Regions from separate parts of the Homo sapiens genome. Here all the other regions are linked to region 3. The links are contacts of gene promoters, found by promoter capture Hi-C in blood cells and fetal thymus (Javierre and others, 2016). All regions are on one chromosome and are shown on one strand. Each heading gives the region's core, a stretch centred on a gene start or on the middle of the fragment in contact. The rest is flanking DNA. Distances are from core to core; before and after follow the strand shown.

Region 1 (4,886 bases), core at 278-2,777, 1.2 Mb before region 3:
ATGCAGAGAAAGCCAGCCCCTTCTGAATTAATTATGTGACTCAGACACTAGAGGATGATGAGTTTATTTCCTTTATTATGATTAATACTTTTTTTCCCAAAGAGTTTTTCAATTCTGAGATTTAAGTTTTATATATTGTAAATATCAAGATATCCTTTATGAAACAATATTCTTTCCAAAAGACAGCATAAATTTTGGAGTAAAACTGATGACTATGTTTCCTTTTTCTAGACTTTAAATATCTCCTTTTACTTAGGGCTGATTTTAAAATCATGTGGATTTAAAAATTTATGTGGAAGTGTTTTGTGACATTGAAAATAAGAGTCTGTGAAGAAAAGCTGATGCTGCCATTACGATCTCTTTGTATCTGGAATAATTAACTTTTGTTTATTACAAAAACCTTTTTTAAAAATAGGCAATAAATTAATTGTGCAGTTCATCTTGGATTTAGGAGAAGTTGATTCTATGGTTTTTTTTTTCTTTCTTTTTGTAGAGACAGAGTCTTTCTCTGTCACTGGACTGCAGTGGTGCAATCATAGCTCACTGCAGCCCCTAACTCCTGGGCTCAAGCAATCCTCCTGCCTCAGCCTCTCAAGTAGCTGGGATTACAGGTGTGAGCTACCATGCCCAACAAGAAGGTGATTCTTAAAAAAGAGAAAATAATACACAGAGAAAAAGTAAAACAGTTATTGTCTTCACATCAATAAAAAGGGAGACTGAGCATTTCCTAAGTGGAACTATTTATAGCTTATACCAAGCTTTAAACTATACTAGATATTTAGTTGATTATATTTCCCAACTCTAATTATTAAAATTAATTTAATCAGTGTGGGAAGAAAATTTAAGAGGGAAAAATAAATCTGCTTTATGATTTTCAAAGTTAGTTTTCTACACTGATCGATGTATGAATAAGTGCTCAGGTGCCAATTCATTTCCTGCCATGGAGATACTGTGCTTTCTGAGTTTTAGAGAGTTAAACTCCAGAAGGCAATAGTGGTTCTATCTGTTGTGCCTGCCTACCCAACATTCATTACCCCATTTTTCTGCTCACAGCCTTTTGATTTTCTTTAGGGGAGCCACCTCTCACTCCACTTTCAGTTCATGACGCTAGGAATAGTTATGTGACCTGGGCTTGGCCAATCAGGGCTTGGTTCAGAGATGGGTACATTACCAAAGCTAAGCCAATGTGAGCCTGACTGGGATTTTGCAGGCACTATTAAGAAAGAGATTCTTTGCCCTTTGGTATGCTGATGCTTGGAGCTTCTACCTGAGAGTGAAACTAACACAAAGAAAGCTGACAGATGGTAAATTCAACTCATACTGCAACTTGGATGTGCCAATAAAATGTAATTTCTCTAGTTTGTCCATAACCAGTCTGGTCCTTCACTAGTTAGGGTTTAAATCTTGATTCAATCCAATAATTCAATATCCCCATTGAGAACATGCTCGCTTTCTCAGATGGCTTCCTCTTTCTCCTTCCCCTCCTATAAAGATGCCATCTGGATGCATGGCCAATATTCAACAGGTACATGGCATTATGGCTGCCCTCATTGATAAAATACTAAAGTATGCATGGAGCAGTTGGTAAACAGGTTCTGCCCTGAGGTCCCTGCTCCTCATAATCCATCAACTAAAGGGTTAACTCTGGACATAGTAAGACATCTCCATTTATACTCCTCAGCGCCTGAGCCTGTAAGGATTTTTAAATGTTTTGATCGTCATCCAGGTAGGGTGTGCTGGGGTGGAGGTAGTATGGTGGTGTGTGTCTTTTCTGTGTCCTCATGGTGTTGAGAGGAAGGGAACTTTTGTCCTTGTACTGGTCCTTGAGCATAGCTGCCTTGTATGTGATTATTTTGAGACAACATCCACTTTTTGTCTGTCCTGGGTGCACTGCAAGCCTCTGATGTGGGGGTCTGTGGATGGGGAGCTTGTGTCCATCTGAGGTGATCTGAAGCAGTGCTCCCAAAGGTGTTTCCTGACTGGCTTAGCTCCTTCTCTGCTTTTCCTGCTGCTACAGACTCCGACTTCTGTCCATGACTTCCTATCAACCCTGGTCCCAGGGGTCTCCTCGGCAGCCCAAACCACTGAGTCACCTCACTACAATGATCACCTCTGGCAAGCTGGCTACAGGCTTTCTGCTATGTCTGGGTAGAATCTAGCCTTCCCAGGGACCTGACAGAGCTTGAAAAGTCCATAGCAGGGCCTGCTGCTACCCGACCAACACTGGGCTCTTCCTCTCATAATTCTGGAGGGGGCGTGGGGGAACGATCTCCCTCTGCCTTTGTGGTTAAGCTTTACTTTTCCAATACAATCTCTCCACTCAGGCCTCTTGTTTATTCTGCTACTTCTGTCCTCTGATAATCCCCACTTTCTCCTGGTCTAGACCTTTCGAATATAAAACCCTAAGGTTTAGTCTACCAAGCTCAGTTCTTGACCCTCTGAAGAGGAAGGTAATGGAATGTACAGGATATTTTCTCAAGGTAAGGGCTTGAATTACATGGCTATTGCCTTGCTACAAAATTTATTTTTGAATGCCAGAAGCTGAGTGTTATGTTTTCTTTCTCTTTGCATACTTTCTGGAAAGAACTTTCATTTCTTCCTAGGCAGATAAATGCCTAGAGTAGACTAAGTTCATATGCTTTGAAAGGCAAAAGAGAAAACTACATTGATAATTTCAAAACATTATGCCTATCATACATGACAACACCTTTAAAGCACCTGAAATCTAACTGGGCCTAAAGCCAGTCTACCCAGTTTTTAGCAAACCCATGGATCCCGTGGTTAGAGCTGGGTTTCAGTCACTTGCTACCCATAGTCCTGACTGACATGGTAATAACAGTATCCATTTCACATTATTTGAATAGCACTGGGCACAGCTCCACATGCAAATGGGTCTGATTAAATGCATTTGATGGTAAGATTACTGCCAGGGTTAGATCCTGACACAGATAAACCTTGCTTAAAGAGCTCCCCAAGTCCATTTCTAAACCTCCCATGTACGTTTCTTCCTTTCCAGTGGTAGAAAAAAAATAACCAAGGAAGAGGATCCCTTCCTTTGGGTTATCTGGGGCCAGAATCCCCTCTTCTGTCACTCACCCTGTGGTGGTGCTGGGGGTTGTACTGAGACTCCAAGTTATTTCTCCTTGCTGACCCCTCCTGCTTCCCCTTTCCTATAAGCTCGTTCCAGTTTCCCATAGTTGCAAAAACAAAACACAACAAATAAAACAAAACGACAATGAATAAAGGAAACTCTCCCTGCCTCCCCTTTTAGCTGTAACTTCCCCCTCCCTGCCTAACCAACTCTCTTGAAGCAGTGGTTTATACCCACTACCCCTGCCTCTTCTCTTCTTTGACTCCATTTTGCTTCTAACCTAGTGTGATTTTGTTTCTGCCCTCACATCCCCACTAAAACCAATGTCTCACAAGTAATCAATGACTTCCTCATTGTCAAATACAACAGACATATTCCGGTGCTCATTTGCTTCACATCTCGGTGGCATTTCCCACTCCTGACTACGTCTTCAACCTGGAGAGTCTTGATGTGAACTGCTTGATGCCACTTTTTTCTGGTTTTCTTTCCATTTCTCCATCTGTTCCTCAGGATCTCTTATTTGATCCTTAGGATCTGGTATCTGTCAGGTTTGGGTTTCATGCTTTCATAGTCTTTTCATTCTGCCTGCTCTTCTGGGCCATCCCAGCCCTGCCTTGGCTTCAGTGACCATCTTTAAGTTGACTGTTCCCCAGTGGGCACCTCCAGGCCTCTCTCCTGTGCTTGGAACTCATGTTCCTAACTCTTCCTGGAGGTCTCCACCTGGATGTCCTACAGCCACCTCAAACCCATGTTCAAAACATGCCATCTTCCTCTCAGGTCCATTTCTGTTCCTCTACTTGCAATCACAGTAAATGGTATCAACATCCATGAAGCTGCACAAAGAACCCGAGAATCCTCCCGGATTTCTATTTCCTTTCCCCTTTCCCTGCCTACTGAGGCAGAACCTTGTACCTGGCAGTATATCAGATATCCACCCAGAGTAGTGTGTATGAGTGGATGAATGAACTATGGTGCTACAGAACACCATGGCTCCAACTTGAGTCTGAAACTTGATGTCATTTTGCCTTTCACAGTTTTTCACTGCTTCTTCTTTAATATGAGGGAGTCCACCTAGATGATCTTCAGCTCTGAGATCTATGATCCACACTACTCCAATGTGACACCTTAGTCACTTATCCACTTAACTCCATTCCTTTTTCTTGTGCCTATCACACCTAGGTAAAGGGGAGGGGAACCCCTATGATAAAATGGGACTTAAAACTTAAATTATGCCAGATTACAGAACATATTTTCCCTGGTAAGAGGTCCCAATGTCTCTCTGCAGCCACCTACCTTGAGTCACCGTGAGAACTGGAAAGGGAAACAGGAAGAGTGCATGGGAAGGGCGGGAGAAGCTGAAGGAGAGATTAACAGAAGCCATTTCCTCCTTTCCCTGTCATGCCAGATCCTCTGTCTGTGTGAGTCTCCCCAAGCGCTGCACACGGGAAAGCACCTTCCCTCTTGTTCCTCATGACTTCTGTCTGGAAACGAGTACCGTGACTGTCTCCTGAACGCCTACGTGCCTAGCACTTTCTACTTCTCAAAACATTGCACGAATATTTATTTGAGAGCCTTCCATGCGCAGGCACTGTGCTAAACAATGTGCACCTTATCTCATTTAAATCCCACGACCCTAGCCTATTTTTATCTCCGTTTTGCAGACCAGAAAGCTAGGGCATGGAGCGGTTAACTGCTTCACTAAGGCCATCCAACTAGTAGTGTGGTTCTGGAAATCATCATATCAAACCCAGGTCTGTCTGATTCTATGCCCAAATCCAGGGCAGCCGTGGCTACA
Region 2 (4,647 bases), core at 575-3,074, 1.3 Mb before region 3:
GTGAGTATACTTGGGCTGGAAAACTGGCTTGAGGAATCTTTTATGTGTTTACTTTTTAACACACTAAGTTTGTAACTAATATGTCATGATTTTTTGAAGTGTAAGAAAAGACAGCAAGAGAAGTAGAAATAGCAGAAGTGCAAGTCGATCGAGGTCAAGAACACGATCACGTTCTAGATCACATACTCCAAGAAGACAGTAAGTAAATGTTTTCTTAGGGAAGCAGTCTTATTTGGAGTTTTTAAAGGTTATTGCTTTTTCTTTAAAAATTGAACATAGATTATTTTCAAAGTTAGGTTAGAATTAGGCTTTTAGTATGAGGCAAATTATGAGAAATGAGTTTGGAGATGTTCTGGACATACAGTATCTTAATGGCATTCTGTTATATTTTCTCCCATGTTTTTTGGAGAAGTGTAGGAGCTACCCACAAAGTGCTTGAGGGCCATAGTATTGTTCATAATGTGAAAACTTCTTTTTTTTTTTTTAATTTCAGTTAGAAAATGTGTTTCATTAACCCCTTATTAATAACCAATAATCAAATTAACCAGTCAATGAATCTTCTTTAGTTAGGCCTGTAATTAGATTGTTAGCTCTTCGTGGCTCTTCAATGTCTTTTGAACATGTGGGAGATACTTAATAAAAAGCATAGCTCTAGGACACTATAAAAATTGCTAATTACTCCCCTTGGAATAAAGACATAAGAACATTTGCTTAAGATTTAATATGTTATATATAGGCTTGGGCATACAGCAGTGAGGGGTGGGGAGATTTTGAAAAGTTCTGGTTTGTCATTTATGTAGCTGGTAGTTTTGTTTTGAACCTGTTATGAGCAACCACCGGAATAATCTGTTCCCCATAGAAACTGAACCTAAACTTCAAATTTTTATTATCTAAGCTATAATAATAGGCGGAGTCGATCTGGAACATACAGCTCGAGATCAAGAAGCAGGTCCCGCAGTCACAGTGAAAGCCCTCGAAGACATCATAATCATGGTTCTCCTCACCTTAAGGCCAAGCATACCAGAGATGATTTAAAAAGTTCAAACAGACATGGTCATAAAAGGAAAAAATCTCGTTCTCGATCTCAGAGCAAGTCTCGGGATCACTCAGATGCAGCCAAGAAACACAGGCATGAAAGGGGACATCATAGGGACAGGCGTGAACGATCTCGCTCCTTTGAGAGGTCCCATAAAAGCAAGCACCATGGTGGCAGTCGCTCAGGACATGGCAGGCACAGGCGCTGACTTTCTCTTCCTTTGAGCCTGCATCAGTTCTTGGTTTTGCCTATCTACAGTGTGATGTATGGACTCAATCAAAAACATTAAACGCAAACTGATTAGGATTTGATTTCTTGAAACCCTCTAGGTCTCTAGAACACTGAGGACAGTTTCTTTTGAAAAGAACTATGTTAATTTTTTTGCACATTAAAATGCCCTAGCAGTATCTAATTAAAAACCATGGTCAGGTTCAATTGTACTTTATTATAGTTGTGTATTGTTTATTGCTATAAGAACTGGAGCGTGAATTCTGTAAAAATGTATCTTATTTTTATACAGATAAAATTGCAGACACTGTTCTATTTAAGTGGTTATTTGTTTAAATGATGGTGAATACTTTCTTAACACTGGTTTGTCTGCATGTGTAAAGATTTTTACAAGGAAATAAAATACAAATCTTGTTTTTTCTAAACTGCTTCAAATACCTTATTTAAATAAATTATTAAAAAGGAAAATTTTAATAGCAAAATGGCTGTACTGGTTTTCTGACAAACTTATTCTTTCCTCCATTAGATGGTAGTTTGAGATTATTAAAATGCAATTCTTAACTGCATTGTGAGCTATTGTAAGTCTTCACTGTATATATGGAAAAAGTAAATGGGAGTCGCCCAACAATGTGACATTAAATGTTATATTTTAGCACTAAACCAAAAAACCTGATTTGCTTTTGAATGGTGTCATAAGGTAATTTTGAGTCAGATTTAAGTACTATTTCTGAAATGAGGTACCCTATTGAATGAACCAAAACTTAGTAACTATTGAGCTTTAACAGTTCTGTATAATTTAGGCATTTAATGTTACGATTTTTACGTAGGCTAGGAGAAAATGTGAGGCCCCTGAACTTGAGTGGTTGATAGAATACAAGCTGATCACAAAGAAGTGAAGTTTTGATGAAAAAGCCGGAATTTCTATCCAGATGAATGTTTTCAAGTTACTCACATTTACTATTTTTTTCAACATTTTGGAAATCAGTTTACAGAGTCAAAATGTTGCATCGCTTTATAATTACACTAAGGTCTCCATTACATTTATTTTACCTACTTTAATTGTCCACTAGACTTGGCTCCAAGTGATTTGTTGCTGTTTCAAGAAATAAAATACACCCACAAAGAGGAAGATGTATTACTGCTAAGGATATTTTTAAAAATAAAGTTACAGCTTCTGAAGAGGAGATTCCAAAGACTTAAAATGTGTTCACCAATGGCAGGTGGTGGAGGCTGGAAAAAATAGCTTCACAAGGCAACTACTTTGAAGGAGATTAAGATTCATTAGGATATAAAAGTGTTGGGTGTGCTACTTAAATCAGTTATAGTTCTAACTATAAAGACTAACCAGAAACTAACAAGACCCAGCAAAAGTTAGCCACTTCATGCTTGAAAGAGGGTAGATAGTTCATTAAGACTTCTTTCTGCCTGATTTGTAATACACATTGCTGAATTATAAATAGATATTTCTGAAAAGCTAACTGCTTCTAAATGCTGAACAGTTTGCTTCCCCTACAAGATAGACATTGAAGAAAGGCAAAGGCAAATGTCAGCAAAGGCCCTGTTAGCAAATTAATGTTGATTTTTTTTTTTAACTTTTTTTTTTTTTTTTTTAGAGACGAGGTCTTGCTACGTTGCCCAGGTCGGTCACGAACTCCTGGCCTCAAGTGATCCTCCCACCTCAGCCTCCCAAGTATTAAATTCTTAATAGTGTTGAAATTACTTATGTCCCTAATCTTTGCTTGGAAATAGGAGTGCTGTGGGTGAGGGTTGTTTGTGAAGATGGGGAGTTGTGGAGGATACACCTGCATGTGGAATGAGGTTTGTATGTTAAAGGTGTTTTTAGAGGTGGCTTTGTGGGCTAGGCAAAGATCTTTTTCAGGGTCTTGATTTTTATCTTATTGTCTGTTACTGAATCCGTTTTCTAAGTTGTCAGGATGTTAACCTCATGCCACTCTATGGCTATTTAAACACTTTCTCTAGAAGTAATACTCATTTTCAAACTTATTTTGAGAAACAAAGTTGTGCAATACCAATAATACCTGTTTATTAACTCCAAAATAGCAAAACTTAATCTGTACCCCACCAGTTCACCACTCCACCTCCCACCCTTGCTATTGGGAAGAAAATCCCATACAAGTAAAGTTTGTTCCCAAGTGTCTCAGTCCACAAGGTTGAGGATTTTTAAAACATAACCATATAGCTTTATTGTAAGAGTTAAAAGTAATGCCATACTACCCCTGTCAGTATCCAGAGAGCCCTCATCTCTAATTTGTTTTAACTGATTTGTTCAAAGTCCAAATATGTTGCATCGGCTTTAACCACAGGCCTCTCCATATTTCTTACTTGAAGAAATTGGGTCATGTCCTGAAGAATTTTTTGTCTCCTGGGTTTGTTCATTGTAACTCTGTGCTGTCACTGAACACATTTTTCTGTCCACTGTGTGGTAAAGTGGTAGATCTTGAGGCTTGATCAGATTTAGGTTTAATTTTTTTACTTGTCTGGAATTAGAAGCCTGGACACCCAGACTGTTATTTTAGAACTGAAAACTAGGTTGCTGCCTCATCCACCAGGTATTTTACTGAGTTCTCAGTTCTTATCCATTGGTGCTTGTACCTCACTGGCTTTTGTATCTGTTTTTCCCTCTGTTCTCTGTCTCATGTTTTGGTTGGCCCATTACAGCAATGAAAATGTTATTTGTCCTAATGATCCTGATACTTTTTTTCTTTAAATGACCCACAAATTAAATCCCGTTTTGGTTTTTTTTTTTTTTTTTTTTTTTTTTTGAGATGAAGTCTCGCTCTGTCTCCCAGGCTGGAGTGCAGTGGCACGATCTCGGGTTACTGCAAGCTCCCACTCCCAGGTTCATGCCATTCTCCTGCCTCAGCCTCCTGAGTAGCTGGGAATACAGGCGCCTGCCACCACGCCCTGGCTAATTTTTTTGTGTTTTTAGTAGAGACGGGGTTTCACCTATGTTAGCCAGGATGGCCTCGATCTCCTTACCTTGTGATCCACCTGCCTTGCCTCCCAAAGGGCTGGGATTACAGGCATGAGCCACCGCGCCCGGCAAAATCCTGATTTTTAGTACAAGTCCTTTCATGTTATAGAACATTACATTTGTCCTTTGCAGCTGGTATCTTTAGTTTAAAGACCAGTGAAATTCTTAACCATGTTCCCATTTTAAAACAAAGCGAACATAAAAATGACTAATTCTTAGAACTGAAGTTCTAGGTTTTGCTTTAATAGCTTTTAAGTATTGCCACTTATAACCCCATTATTAACACCACAGTCTGCATCAAAAGCTTACTTAAAACATTTAGTTTTCATGAGAGTTTCCAAAAATAATATCATAACAATCATTTGTTCTAAGAGCCATTTCTTAACTC
Region 3 (4,276 bases), core at 1,404-3,903:
CTGATTTGGTATCTATACAATGGACTAATACTCTGTGATTTAAAAGAAAGACGGACATACATTGATACTGATATATTACCATCTTAAATGGATCTCAAGGACATTTTGGTGGATGAAAAAAAAAGTTGATCCCCAAAGTTGCATACTATATGATTCCACTTTTATAATATTCTTGAAAGGACGTAAGTATAGCCGTGGAGAACAAATTAGTGATTGCCAAAGAACAGGGAGGAGGACAGTGGACTGGTGCAACTATTAATATGTAGTACTATAAGGGATAGCACTATGAAAGGGTAACACAGGACACACACACACACACACAAGCTAGTGCATGTAAAAACTGGTGAAATTGGAATAAAGCCTGTGGTCTGGTTAACAATATTTTACAGATGTCAGTTTCCTGGTTTTAATATTGTACTATAATCACGTAAGAGGCAATGATCAGAGGAAGGTGGGTGAAGGGTATATGGGACTCTGCTATATTTGCAATTTCCTGTGAATCTATAATTATTTCAAATTAAAGAAGGGGAAAAAATCAAACACAAGACATACAAACTCATCAAGTATTTCCTTTTTTTTTGGAAAAAAAAAAAACACCTACTGATTGTGAATGGCTTTATTGGCTGCTTCCTTTAACTCCCACAACTCTCTGAAATAGATGTTATGAACTCTATTTTAATTTTCATCAAAATGGAGGCTTAGGTTAAGTAATCTGTCCAAGGCACAACTACTGTTAGAGCCAGGGTTTGAATCCAGCACAATATAAATCCCACTCATGGTTGTTTTGGTTTAATCTTGATTGGACTTAAATGACACCGTTCTTTTCTTTAACACCCAGACTGGAGTGCAATGGCATGATCTCGGCTCACTGCAACCTCCGCCTCCCGGGTTCAAACGATTCTCCAGCCCCAGCCTCCCGAGTATCTGGGACTACAGGCATGAGCCACCACACCCAGCTGATTTTTGTATTTTTAGTAGAGACAGGGTTTCACCATATTGGCCAGGCTTGTCTTGAACCCCTGACCTCAAGTGATCTGCCCGCCTCAGCCTCTCAAAGTGTTGGGATTACAGGTGTGAGCCACCGCGCCCGGCCAACACTGTTCTTTTCTGCAATCTATTCTTCTACTTAACAAAGATTAGAGGACTTTACAGTTGCCTTTTTTTTTTTTTTCCAGACGGAGTCTCACTCTGTCGCCAGGTTGGATTGCAGTGGCACGATCCCGGTTCACTGCAACCTCCGCCTCCCAGGTTCAAGCGAGTCTCCTGTCTCAGCCTCCCAAGTAGCTGGGGCTACAGGCGCGCGCCACCAGGCCGAGCTAATTTTTTGTATTTTTAGTAGAGACGGGGTTTCACCGTGTTGGCCAGGATGGTCTCAATCTCTTGACCTCGTGATCCACCCGCCTCGGCCTCCCAAAGTTCTGGGATTATAGGCGTGAGCCACTGTGCCTAGCCTGCCATTACGTTTGTAATCCCAGCACTTTGGGAGGCCGAGGCAGGCGGATCACGAGGTCAGGAGTTCGAGACCAGCCTGGCCAACATAGTGAAACCCCGTCTCTACTAAAAATACAAAAATTAGCCGGGCGTGGTGGCGCGTGCCTGTAGTCCCAGCTACTCGGGAGGCTGAGGCAGGAGAATCGCTTGAACCCGGGAGGTGGAGGCTGCAGCGAGCCGAGATGGCCCTACTGAACACCAGCCCAGGCGACAGTGTGAGATTCCTCTCAAAAGAAAAAAAAATAATAATCTTTCTGCCAGAGGTGAGAGAGCAGAAAAAAAATTAATCAGATTCTCAAATTCCTGTACGTCTCTTAGTAGAGACGGGTTTCTCCTTGTTGGTCAGGCTGATCTTGAACTCCCAATCTCAGGTGATCCGCCCGCCTCGGCCTTCCAAAGTGCTGGGATTACAGGCGTGAGCCACCGCGCCCGGCCACAAGACGTTTTATTGCAACATAAAAACAGGATGTAACGAGTCTTCCAATCACCAATGTAATTAGAGTTGGTTACCAAGTTTCCCCACGCGTCTTCCACCATGAGGGAGAAACGGACTGCAGACAAACCTAGCACCCCTTGAGCAGTTTAATTCGTACTATAAATATGTAGGCACCGTAAGGACGCGATTCTCCAGTTTGCCAGGCCTTTTTCTATCCTTTTGGGGGCACAAGGCGACCTTGCCTCCTGATTCAAAAACTTCGTAAACGTCAATCCTTCTACCCTTTTCTGGTCAGCCCACGAAAGCAGCAGCATGGCACAACTCCCAGCCTAGAGTTCGGGCACTGCCTGTCGTCAGCATAACGAAGAAACCTACACCCACGAAGACTTCAGACCCCACGTGATTACATCACTCAACCACCAGCGCTGGCCTGGAGGAACCCGCTGTCACGTGACCGCTCGTGCCCAATGACCGAGGCCCACGCTTTCCAGACCGCCACAGTCGCTGTCACAGGGCCTGAGTTTGGGCGGCGCCCCGCCCCGGCCGCACGGTGCGCCGGCGTTAATCCTCCCCGAAGGTTCCGGCAGCCAAGATTGCAGGTTCCCACCAAGCATTGTTTCCGAACTGGGCCACGAGAGCGTGTCCCTGATTGGCTTGCTCTGGAGGCTGGGAAGGGACCTGTTAGAGACTGGGACCACTTCCTGAAGCGCGAGGCAGGAAGTTATATGCTTTTTCTGGAGTCCTGTAGAGAAAGTGCTCTCTGCCGCATTGATAGCAGCGAGAGCTGGAGGTGTTGGGTCGGGAGACCAGCCGTTCGATCCCGCCGCAGGTAGGAGCTGGTTTCCATCCTGGCACCACGGCACACACCTCCAGCCTCGAGCCCGGCGCTGCTGCCCGGGGGTCTCCTTCAGGCTCTTTGACGCCGTTCCAGGGGGCACCTATCCAGGCATCCTCTGGGCCTCTAGCCAGAGGACTGGCTCCCGGCTTCAGCACTCCGGGCTGCAGTAAGAAGTGCCCTTATCGCTCTGAGCCCTGCCACCATCCCGTGAACCACCGAAACCCTGGTCCAGCGCGACAGCCTTGGACCTGGGACTGGACGGATCCAAAACGCTCAGCCTCGGCCCCCCACAGACGGGGCTCTGCATCGTCTCTGATATGTCACCCACCATCTCCCACAAGGACAGCAGCCGGCAACGGCGGCCAGGGAATTTCAGTCACTCTCTGGATATGAAGAGCGGTCCCCTGCCGCCAGGCGGTTGGGATGACAGTCATTTGGACTCAGCGGGCCGGGAAGGGGACAGAGAAGCTCTTCTGGGGGATACCGGCACTGGCGACTTCTTAAAAGCCCCACAGAGCTTCCGGGCCGAACTAAGCAGCATTTTGCTACTACTCTTTCTTTACGTGCTTCAGGGTATTCCCCTGGGCTTGGCGGGAAGCATCCCACTCATTTTGCAAAGCAAAAATGTTAGCTATACAGACCAAGCTTTCTTCAGTTTTGTCTTTTGGCCCTTCAGTCTCAAATTACTCTGGGCCCCGTTGGTTGATGCGGTCTACGTTAAGAACTTCGGTCGTCGCAAATCTTGGCTTGTCCCGACACAGTATATACTAGGACTCTTCATGATCTATTTATCCACTCAGGTGGACCGTTTGCTTGGGAATACCGATGACAGAACACCCGACGTGATTGCTCTCACTGTGGCGTTCTTTTTGTTTGAATTCTTGGCCGCCACTCAGGACATTGCCGTCGATGGTTGGGCGTTAACTATGTTATCCAGGGAAAATGTGGGTTATGCTTCTACTTGCAATTCGGTGGGCCAAACAGCGGGTTACTTTTTGGGCAATGTTTTGTTTTTGGCCCTTGAATCTGCCGACTTTTGTAACAAATATTTGCGGTTTCAGCCTCAACCCAGAGGAATCGTTACTCTTTCAGGTAGTGTATTTAAGCTATTATGGTGTTAGGTTTATTTATCCTTTTGAAAGAGTGTGTGACGTTGGAGGGAAGCTCATTAATTTACTGGAAATCATTGTATGGGAGATAACTCAAGGTAAGTTTTCTGTTTCGTCCAAATGAGCTTCTTTGAAATATTAAAGCCAAAATGAATGATATTAGAGCAATCAAATGATCACTATGCGGTTAACAGGGAGAGGCAACCCATCAAATAACACAACCGAGTCCAGGGATTCATGCCACTTGCTTAATACACAAATGCACACTTTTAAAAAGTGTGGCTCATATGGTTCACATTTTTCCTTTTGTCTTGTTGGTTTTAGGTTTCTAGCTCTATACTTTCTAATCCATTTCTACCCCTACCGTTGTACCCAGAATCCAGCCTTCTAGTGAATGGAACA

What was found. Contacts are between HindIII fragments. The CHiCAGO score rates a contact against its expected background, and 5 or more counts as called.
Region 1: a contact is called between a fragment that was not itself captured here and the fragment with the promoter of SLC33A1 in region 3, in 1 of 17 cell types (naive CD8 T cells). The highest score is 5.3, in naive CD8 T cells.
Region 2: a fragment that was not itself captured here is called in contact with the fragment with the promoter of SLC33A1 in region 3 in 2 of 17 cell types (naive CD4 T cells and total B cells); the score reaches 8.8 in naive CD4 T cells.

The regions. Positions count from the first base shown.
Region 1 is chr3:157,089,621-157,094,506 of GRCh38, reverse strand. The region is part of intron 3 of LINC00880 (long intergenic non-protein coding RNA 880); the gene reads left to right. LINC00881 (long intergenic non-protein coding RNA 881) reads right to left here and starts at 4,626. Exons shown (of 3, transcript NR_034008.1): 1 at 4,385-4,626. RefSeq lists an enhancer at 4,222-4,321. The HindIII fragment of the contact is 1,534 bases long and covers 761-2,294 here.
Region 2 is chr3:157,144,838-157,149,484 of GRCh38, reverse strand. CCNL1 (cyclin L1) reads left to right here. Exons shown (of 11, transcript NM_020307.4): 10 at 100-198; 11 at 896-1,932. The coding sequence ends at 1,244. Among named protein-coding and RNA genes, the nearest start is that of CCNL1, 13 kb to the left of the region's middle. RefSeq lists a silencer at 719-868. The HindIII fragment of the contact is 5,483 bases long and covers 1-4,565 here.
Region 3 is chr3:155,852,804-155,857,079 of GRCh38, reverse strand. It overlaps SLC33A1 (solute carrier family 33 member 1), which reads left to right and starts at 2,653. Exons shown (of 6, transcript NM_004733.4): 1 at 2,653-3,857. The coding sequence starts at 3,083. It overlaps LOC105374174 (a long non-coding RNA gene), which reads right to left and starts at 2,327. Exons shown (of 3, transcript XR_924607.4): 1 at 2,002-2,327. RefSeq lists enhancers at 2,066-2,625, 2,996-3,065. The HindIII fragment of the contact is 4,607 bases long and covers 1-3,412 here.